Regions from separate parts of the Homo sapiens genome. Here region 2 is linked to region 1. Evidence: promoter capture Hi-C in human tissues and cell types (Jung and others, 2019). All regions are on one chromosome and are shown on one strand. Each heading gives the region's core, a stretch centred on a gene start or on the middle of the fragment in contact. The rest is flanking DNA. Distances are from core to core; before and after follow the strand shown.

The links. The method cuts DNA at HindIII sites, captures the fragments that hold promoters and counts their contacts. A contact is called where the count stands out against the background at its distance.
Region 2: a fragment that was not itself captured here is called in contact with the fragment with the promoter of CDHR1 in region 1 in 2 of the 25 tissues and cell types used here (H1 embryonic stem cells and liver).

Annotation. Positions count from the first base shown.
Region 1 is chr10:84,192,642-84,196,769 of GRCh38, forward strand. CDHR1 (cadherin related family member 1) reads left to right here and starts at 1,896. Exons shown (of 17, transcript NM_033100.4): 1 at 1,896-2,174; 2 at 2,853-2,948; 3 at 3,864-4,009. The coding sequence starts at 2,120. RefSeq lists silencers at 1,792-1,921, 1,992-2,111. The HindIII fragment of the contact is 10,516 bases long and covers 1-4,128 here.
Region 2 is chr10:84,120,906-84,125,459 of GRCh38, forward strand. No RefSeq gene overlaps it. Among named protein-coding and RNA genes, the nearest start is that of GHITM, 16 kb to the right of the region's middle. The HindIII fragment of the contact is 6,156 bases long and covers 1-4,554 here.

The DNA of each region.
Region 1 (4,128 bases), core at 646-3,145:
CACCTGTAATGCCAATATTTGAAAGGCTGAGGCAGGAGAATCACTTGAACCTAGGAGACAGAGGTTGCAGTGAGCTGAGATCCGCCATTGCACTCCAGCCTGGGTGACCGAGTGAGACTCCAGCTCAAAAAAAAAAAGAGTTTGAACCTTCTTTGGAGCCAACCCAAACTGTATGTGAATCCAAGCTCTGCACCTCAGAGAGAATAAGTCACTTGCTTGGTCGTACACAGCCAATGAGGAAATCTCCCTCCTCTGCAAAGCAGAGAAAATCACATTGGGAGAGCAGTGCAGGTCAAATAAGATAATATGGGCAAATATACATAAGCACACATACAGCACATGGCATGTAGGCTACTCCTTCCCCTTCCCTCTCCAGTGCATGGCTGTTGACTGAGGGAACTGAGGAGAGAGAAATCAACGGCCCTAGATTGGTGAGGAGCAGGGCTAACAGGACCCAGGGAGAGCTGGCTTTTCTCGGCCCACCAAGACATCTACTCCAGGAAACCTTGGCTCTGCCTCTGGCTCCTGGGAAATCCACGGCAAGACTCAGTCTCCACATCCCTATATGGGACTTGCAGAATACTTGCCTTAGCTTTGTCCCAGCACTTTGGGAGGCAGATTCAGAACATCTGTGCAATTTAAAGTGTGTCTTTTCAGCAAAAGAGCCAAGCCTAAGGAGACTCAACAAGGGTTTCGGCCAATTAGGCCTGAAAACTGCTGCACATTCTAAAACCATTGATTCATCTTCCTTCTTCTCTGCAAATCCCTGACCCTTGCTCACAGTAGATCATGTAGGGCTAGACCAAGGGATGGGGGGTGCTCTGTTCCCTCAAAGGCCCCTGGCAGGGGGAGGGGGGGAATGCTGAGTCCTCAGCTGTGGAGACCTCTCCCAGGAGCACACAGAGGAGGGATCTCCTCTATCTGAGAACACATCCACCCAAGGGCATCCTGGGAAGTGGCCTGGCTTGGGCTTGAAGTGACCTGTACCCCCATAAATGGCCCAACCAGGAAAAGGAAAACAGGCTGCATTTCCAAGCACCCTCCAGTGTCAGAGCAGGAGAACGAGGAAGCCCAAGGAGCTTTACCAGCAGCCAAAAAGGTTCCTGGGCTTACCTGTGTCTTCAAGTTATCAGCATCCAGGACCCCAATAGCAGTGCCTTGCTTTGTGTAAATACCCTCTAGGAATGAGATCTCGTGCCTCTCGGGCAGTTCAGATCTATCTTGGCCAGCTCTGTGCAAGTCTGTCCTAAGATGGGGCTTAACTCTGCCTTCAGGCCCTTCACTCTTCCTTGGAAGGTTTGAAGAGTGGGTCAGCTGCCCCTTCATGGTCCCAGACTGGGCACTGACTGGGAATGGGGAGCAGAACTGCCTCTCACCCTGGTGGACACCTGAGGGTCCTCCCTGCTGCCCACCACACAGATCAGACCCTTTGGGAGAGGTGGTCCAGCCTGGGGAACAGGGCAGGAATGGGTTGAGATCACAGAGAGGGGGTCCTGATAACCCCTTACCATCTGCTGCCCATCCATCACCCTTTCTCTTTGCCTTTGGTCTCACGCGGCTTATAGAACCTGCTTAGACTGCTAAGGCAAGGCCCTCTCGGCCGCTCCACTAACTTTTCTTCTGGAATGCTTAGCTCAGAGAAGACAGCTAAGCCCCTGAAAGTCACAGAGGAAGTTGATGAGAAAAGAAAACTGCGAAGCCCAAGCCCCACCAGGACTTAAGTACCCTGGGAAAGCCTCAGGACAACTTGGGGGAAAGACACTCCTGTCCCCCATGGTGTCCTCCTGTCCAGGACTGGGGGCCGCCGGCAAAGGGGGCGTGGCGGGCGGGGAGTCCTCTTGTCACGCCCTCCTGCCCCCGCCCGCGGCTGGGAGCCTGTCGCTCCGCTCTGCGCCGCTAATTGGTCTCGTCAGGCGGCCGGCAGGAGCAGATCCGAGCCGTGTCATCCTCTTAGCGCCCTCACGCCACCCGCCGCTCCCGCCCCGTGCCCCCTCCCGCCGCGGCTGCAGTCGCCGCTACCCCCATTGTGGTCTCTGCCCTCCCCGCGGGCCCAGGGCATGCTCCGTGCCCCTGCGCCCGGTCTCGGCGGCGGCAGGCGACACTCCGCGCCGGCGGAGACATGAGGCGCTGCCGGTGGGCCGCCCTGGCCCTGGGGCTGCTGCGCCTCTGCTTGGGTGAGTGGCCGCTGGGCCGCGCTGGCCGCGTGGATGGCGAGGGAGATGGGCGCTGGCGTCACCCAGGTGGCCAGAGGGACATGGTCCTGGACCACTTCCAGAGTGGGACTCGGGCTGGTGGACGGGAGCGGAGAAGTCCTTCCATCTTCCTGGCCCATTCGGTAGTGGGGAGTGGGGTAGCGGAGTAGTGGGGAGCTCCGGGGCGCTTCTCCAGAGCTGGCATCCTAGGGCCCCAGGGTTTGGCGCCCGGACCCCCGCTGCTCTCCGCTTGCTGGGAACCAGAGCTGTAGGCTTGGTGGCAGCTCCGATGCTGCGTGGGGCAGGAGATAGTGCCCTGACTCGCGGCTTGACCTTGGCTGGGCTGGGGCACTGCCCCTCTCCGAGCGCGGGTGCAATCTGCCCATTGATGAAGGAGGGGTTGGATTGCTACCTGGGTTCTAAGCGCCCACATGCTACGTGTCCCTGACAAGCCCGAGCCCACCGGGGGCGGAGTGGGGGTCAGGGGCATCCTCTGGGCGGCGCCCCAGTGGGGTCCCTCGGTGCACTTGGGTTGGGGAGGCGGAGCGCCCTCCTGCCCAGTAGCTGGGCCTGACGCGGGACCGCGCTGGTGCGAAGCTCCCTCCTGGTGTCTGGGTGTCCTTTGCCTGGGTGTCCGTCTGTTCTGTGTTCTTTTTCCAGCTCAGGCCAACTTCGCCCCGCACTTCTTCGACAACGGGGTCGGCAGCACCAACGGAAACATGGCTCTGTTCAGCCTCCCAGAGGACACCCCTGTAGGTGAGTAGCCCTGGCACCTGCTCCCGATAGGTCTCCCTGAGGGGTGCAGGCAGACTTAGAACACAAAGTGCCCCAGGCACCACCCAAGTTGCTGCGCGCGCCCGGGGGCTCCTTGTTTGCTCTCCGAATTCCCCTGGGCAATGGCAGGAAAGAAGGTCATTGCTGCCATGGCGACTTAAGTCTGGCCAGTCCTGGAGACCAGGGCTCCCCCCCACAGACAGGGTCGCCCCGCGAGGCAGGCAGCTACAGCTGCCCCTTATGGCTGTGTGACCTTGAACAAATGTATTTACCTCCCTGAGCCCCAGGTCTCTAGGCTTTAAAACGGCCTAAGAACATCCAACTTGCTGAGATATGCAGAGAGAGGGGAGGAGAAAGGGGAGATTTCACACTCCTTCTCCCTCACTTTGTGGGTAGTGGGAACCCGGGGAAAAGGGAGAGCAGAGCAAAGTAGGCACCTGGCTCAGAAATCCCTGCAGAACCAGGTCCAGGCATCGGGGACAGTGGTGCACTGTGGGTCACCCCTCCTGCCTTAATGGCTGCTCCCATTTCCCCTTCCCTGTACCCAGGAGCCCCTCAATCTTGGATCCTGAGAGAGGAGTTATTACCAGGCTGAGCAGAACATAGGCACTACAGTTAGGCACGGCAGACCTGCACCTGCTCTGTAACCCGTGTTATAGATTACAATCTGGAAAGTGGCTGATCATCACAACCACCCGCTGTGAAGAATAAACATACAAAGAGGGAAGCAGCCAGCAGGGGTGAGGCCAGCAATGAGCACCAAGTTCAGGGCAGTACCTTTGGCACTGAGTTGAATAGTCACTTTATAAACAGCTGAATCGTTGGTCCTGAGCATCTGCCACTTTTAGGAAAAGTTGGGTCTCAGATTCTATGTCTCTCCACTGTGTTTCCTTCCAGGCTCTCACGTATACACCCTGAATGGGACAGACCCTGAGGGAGACCCCATCTCCTACCACATCAGCTTTGACCCCAGCACTAGAAGCGTCTTTTCTGTTGACCCCACTTTTGGAAACATCACCCTGGTTGAAGAGCTGGACAGAGAGGTATGGGGAGGTGTGGGGAGTGCTGCGGGGCCACTGCCTGTAGACAGACCTCGGTGGGCTGAAGTTCCCCTGGAGCACATTGGTTAGAACCTCTCCACAGAGTAGGGGATGAGGGGGCA
Region 2 (4,554 bases), core at 486-2,985, 72 kb before region 1:
TGTCTTTGACCTGGCAAGTCCCCACAGCGTATAACAAGGCAAGCATTAAATGCAATAGTTTGAGGTGAAATTGACTTGGTTATGTTAATAACTAGATGGTCAGCAATAGAGCAAGGAAAGAAGAAAGAGTAATAGAATAGATGAAAGTGTTAAATTTTTCTTAGCTTTAATTTGGTAGGGTTTTCCCCTGGGACTATGGCCTACAACTCTGGAGGCAGTGGCACTTTCTTGACTCAGGTGTGATGAGTCCATCCCCTTTTCACTGTATGAACAGCAGTCTCGGTAGTTAGCAGCACAAGGTAGGGTCCTTCCCAGGCTAGCTCAAGTTTTCCTTCCTTCCACCCTTTGATGAGAACGTGATCTTCAAGCTGGTGTTAGTTTACTGGAAGTTCTAGGGGTGGTACCTGTGCTAAAAGACTTTTAGTTTTGAGGGAAAGGAAAGTGGAAGATAAACCAAGTATATAATTTCTAAGAAACTGACCTTTTGTTTTAAATGTGGGGACATCAGCAGTGGACTTTGTAGTCCTTGGTACCTTCTTACTGAGAAATTTCCTTTAGCACCTATTTTTATTAGTTTTTAGACTAAAAAAAGTCAAACACCATTTTATATTCGACAGTGGTTCCCGTATGATTTTTATACCAGATAAGCTAAATTTCAACTTTATATTAGTGTGTTATTAATGTTAAACTCAATTGTAATAAAACATTGTAGACATATTTATCTAATTTTAATGTCTGACCATAAGGTAAGTTTTTATAGACTCTTTTTAACCTTTTATATTTGTGTTAAGGAGCAGGTTAGTGCTTTAAGAAAAACCTGTTGTGCTTTTATTTTAATGTCCAGTTCACAGAAAAACTGGATGATATCTCTTTAACTTTAGCCAATATGTTTACACACAGAACTTCCTTTACAATTAACCTTTCAAAACTTGCTTAAACCTTTAAAACAAAAATTTTTTAACCTTTTGACATAGGTAAAAATCCACATTCTTATGCCTCCTTATAATCCTTTTACCAAAGGTATATTTTACTTTCCTTATACACCTTGCACATAAACTGTTTCTTCAATAGTTTTACATTCAGGAGGCCTAAATACTTTTAAATTATACAACATTTCTTGCATAAATTCCCTTTTATAATATTTTTTCACGACTTTTACAGACAATTCTTTGACATGCACCAACTTTCTGACTTGTTGCAAACATCCCTTTTTTTAAACAACCAGTTAATTTATTTTTAGGACAAGAATTTACCATATAACATTCCTTTTTACATACATTCTCCCCCTCCCCCCCACCTTTTGTTTTTTCTCAAAGATGATAAGCATTCTTTTCCAAAGCGAACTTTCTTCATTTCTGTGGACTATACTGTCTAAGGCCAAAAGATTAGAAGTTAGGATAATATATATTACACTGTTAACTTTTAGCAAACTTTACTTTTGTTGAAAACCTTGTAAGTTTGGGATTTCAATTATTGTTTGCTATTAATAAGACCTTGTTCAGTCCATATTAACTTAGTATTGATATAGATGGCTCCTTCCTGATTCTGTAAGTACTTTAAGGTTTGGATGAGTGCAAACAGCTTGCACGTTTGAGCAGCGCAATTATTAGGCAATTTTCCTAACTCTGCTTCTACAAGAATTTCCTTATCACTCACTGAATACCCATTGTGTCTTTTTCCCTCAATCGCCCGGAAGGAACCATCTATTGTCCTGTCCTGAAGGGAGTTTCTCCTAGGTCTGGTCAGACCTTTGTATGGTAATTAATTAAGATTTAGATCCCCTGGGCCTGGTGCAGTGGCTCATGCCTGTAATCCCAGCACTTTGGGAGGCGAGGCGGGTGGATCACGAGGTCAGGAGATCAAGACCATCCTGGCTAACACGGTGAAACCCCATCTCTACTAAAAATATAAAAAATTAGCTGGGCATGGTGGTGGGTGCCTGTAGTCCCAGCTACTTGGGAGGCTGAGGCAGAAGAATGGCATGAGCCCAGGAGGTGGAGCTTGCAGCGAGCCAAGATGATGCCACTGCACTCCAACCTGGGCGACAGAGTGAGACTCTGTCTCAAAAAAAAAAAAAAAGATTTAGATCCCCAGTTAGGAAACCTGCTGAGTTAAGGGAATTATCAGTGGTTAATGTTAAATCATCTTTTTCTAACAGAATAGCCCCATACTTTAAGATTTTGGGGTTAGTAAGCTACCTTTTTGCCTTTTTTTTTTTTTTTTTTTTTTTGACTTAGGATAGTTCTGAACTGGTGAGGTGTGCTCACAATGAAGTTTCCTCTAAAAGTTATTTTTCTACTTTCTTCTGCTAGGAAAGCAGATGCCACTACAGATTGAATGCATTTGGGCCATCCGTGGGTTGCTGGGTTAAGGATTTTTGATAGGAAGGCTATGGGTTGTCAGTGGCCTCAGTGCTTTCGGGCTATGCCCTTGTTTACACTGACAACAAGGTGGTATTGGAGTGTTACAGTGTCATGGAGAAGACCTTCAATTATCAATTATAGGTTTTAAATTTACCCAGGCTTTTAAAGGAATAGGGTACATTGTTTTCTCTTTACCACTTCTCTTTCTCTCTTCCTTTCTCTCTTTGACTTTCTGTGTCTTTCTCTCTCTCTCTATTTGACTCCCTCTTTGTCTCTCTGTCTCTTCCTCTCTCTTTCTGCCTTTTTCTCTTTCTTTTTCCTCTCTCTCTTTTCCCTCTCTCTCTCTCCCTTTCCTCTCTCTTAGTTCTGGGATTCTTTAACCCTGCTTCCCCATACTTTTTAGGGGGCCTGGTAGACAAGGACCTTGGTCCTCCTAATGGAGGCTGGAGTCCTTTAAAAGTTGGTTCGGAATCTTTATAGTTTCTGGCTCCCTGGAAACTCTGCCTAGAAGTACCTGGGTTTGGAGCCATCTGTTGGAAGGTGGAAGACAAGCTTTGTCTTTTGTTTCTGTTTTCCTTCATCCCTTTTCACGTATACTTTCTGAGCTTCCCTAAGAAGCTCACTTAGGGGATGGTCTTCCCAATTATCTATCTTTTTTAACTTTTTTGAAACGTCTGGCCAACTTTTAGTGACAAATTGGAGTTTCAATATTCCTTGCCCAAGGGGATCATCCAAATTGAGGCCTGCATATTGCCTCATTTGCTCCCTCAGTCTGTCTAGGAATCTCATAGGCCCTTCATCCTTTTCCTGTTGTATATCAAATGCTTTAGAAAGATTTCAGGTTCAGGGTACTGATTCCCGAATTCCTTTTATTATTATCTCCCTTAGGTCCTGCATATTTTCCCAGTGATCTGCATTGTCATTGTCCCACCAGGGGTCTTGGGAGGTGAATTTCTGGTCCATGGTAGGGACATTTATACCGGGAGGGTGCTCACATTCCCAAACTACCATAGCGGCCCTATGAATCATACTCCTTTCTTCTCCCTGAAAAGAGGATGCCTAAGATGGACATTAACTTGACCCAAGTGTATAACTGAGGGCCTAAGAATTGGTCAGTTTGGTATGCCACTCTGTAAGGGTTATCTAGTAGCAGTTTAAGCTCCTTTTTTAAAATTCCAGACTTCTGAACTGGTTAAGGGAGCATTTACAAAGCCAATGGCCCCCGCTTCTTGTAGTACCTCTTTCAAAGGGAAGAGGGTCGGGGCTGACCTCTTAGGTACGGAGGGGAATGGGAAATTCTGAATATCTTTTTTACATTGTTCTACCTGACGCTGGAGTCCTTTTAGAGAGGAGTCTTTAGGTTGGGAGGGGAACAGGCTGGTGGAACGGTAATTCCCAAGAGTCGGGGTTATAAGGAGGAGGGATAACGTGAGTAGAGGGAGAATTTGGAATGGGATCTGTGGTGGCAGTGGCTGTCTGAGGGGAAAGATTGGGGACACTGAGTGGGGGAAGGTAGCCTAGGGGATCCCATGTGCTGGAGTCTTTAGGCATGAAAGCTGGCTCCTCTGACTTTTCATTTTGAGATGCCAGATTGGGTTCTTCCCAATTTGTTTTTAAGGGAAAAAGGAGGGCAGGTCCTTGCCTCCAACAAAGAGCATAGCCTAGTTCTTCTTGAGACACTGGACTTTTATCATTAATATATCAGATTAGAAGCTGAGACATTACATCCTCATTCGACCTAAACTTTGGCTGAAAGATTGAGGGTTTAAGGATGGGTCCCTGAGTCCAAATAAAACAGCAATATTTTATCATTTGTTGCTTTTTCCTATGTTTAGTCCTTTCTTTATCCTTCCAGTGTTTTAGCATGAGACCTAGGGGGGTACCTGGGGTGATATCTTTGTTACCATCTTTATCCCCTTTGTTACCTGTCTTGCTTGGGGTGTTTCCCATCTTGATGGTTTTGGGGTAAGGTTCAAGGTTCAATTTCCCTTACTGGAAATTTCTTACCTTTTGGGGTGAGGCTCAATTTCCCCCACTGGAAATCTCTTGCCTTTTGGGGTGAGGCTCAACTTCCCCCACTGGAAATTTCTTGCCTTTTGGGGTAAGGCTCAACTTCCCCCACTGGAAATTTCTTGCCTTTTGGGGTGAGGCTCAATTTCCCCACTGGTAATTTCTTGGCCTTTCTACTACT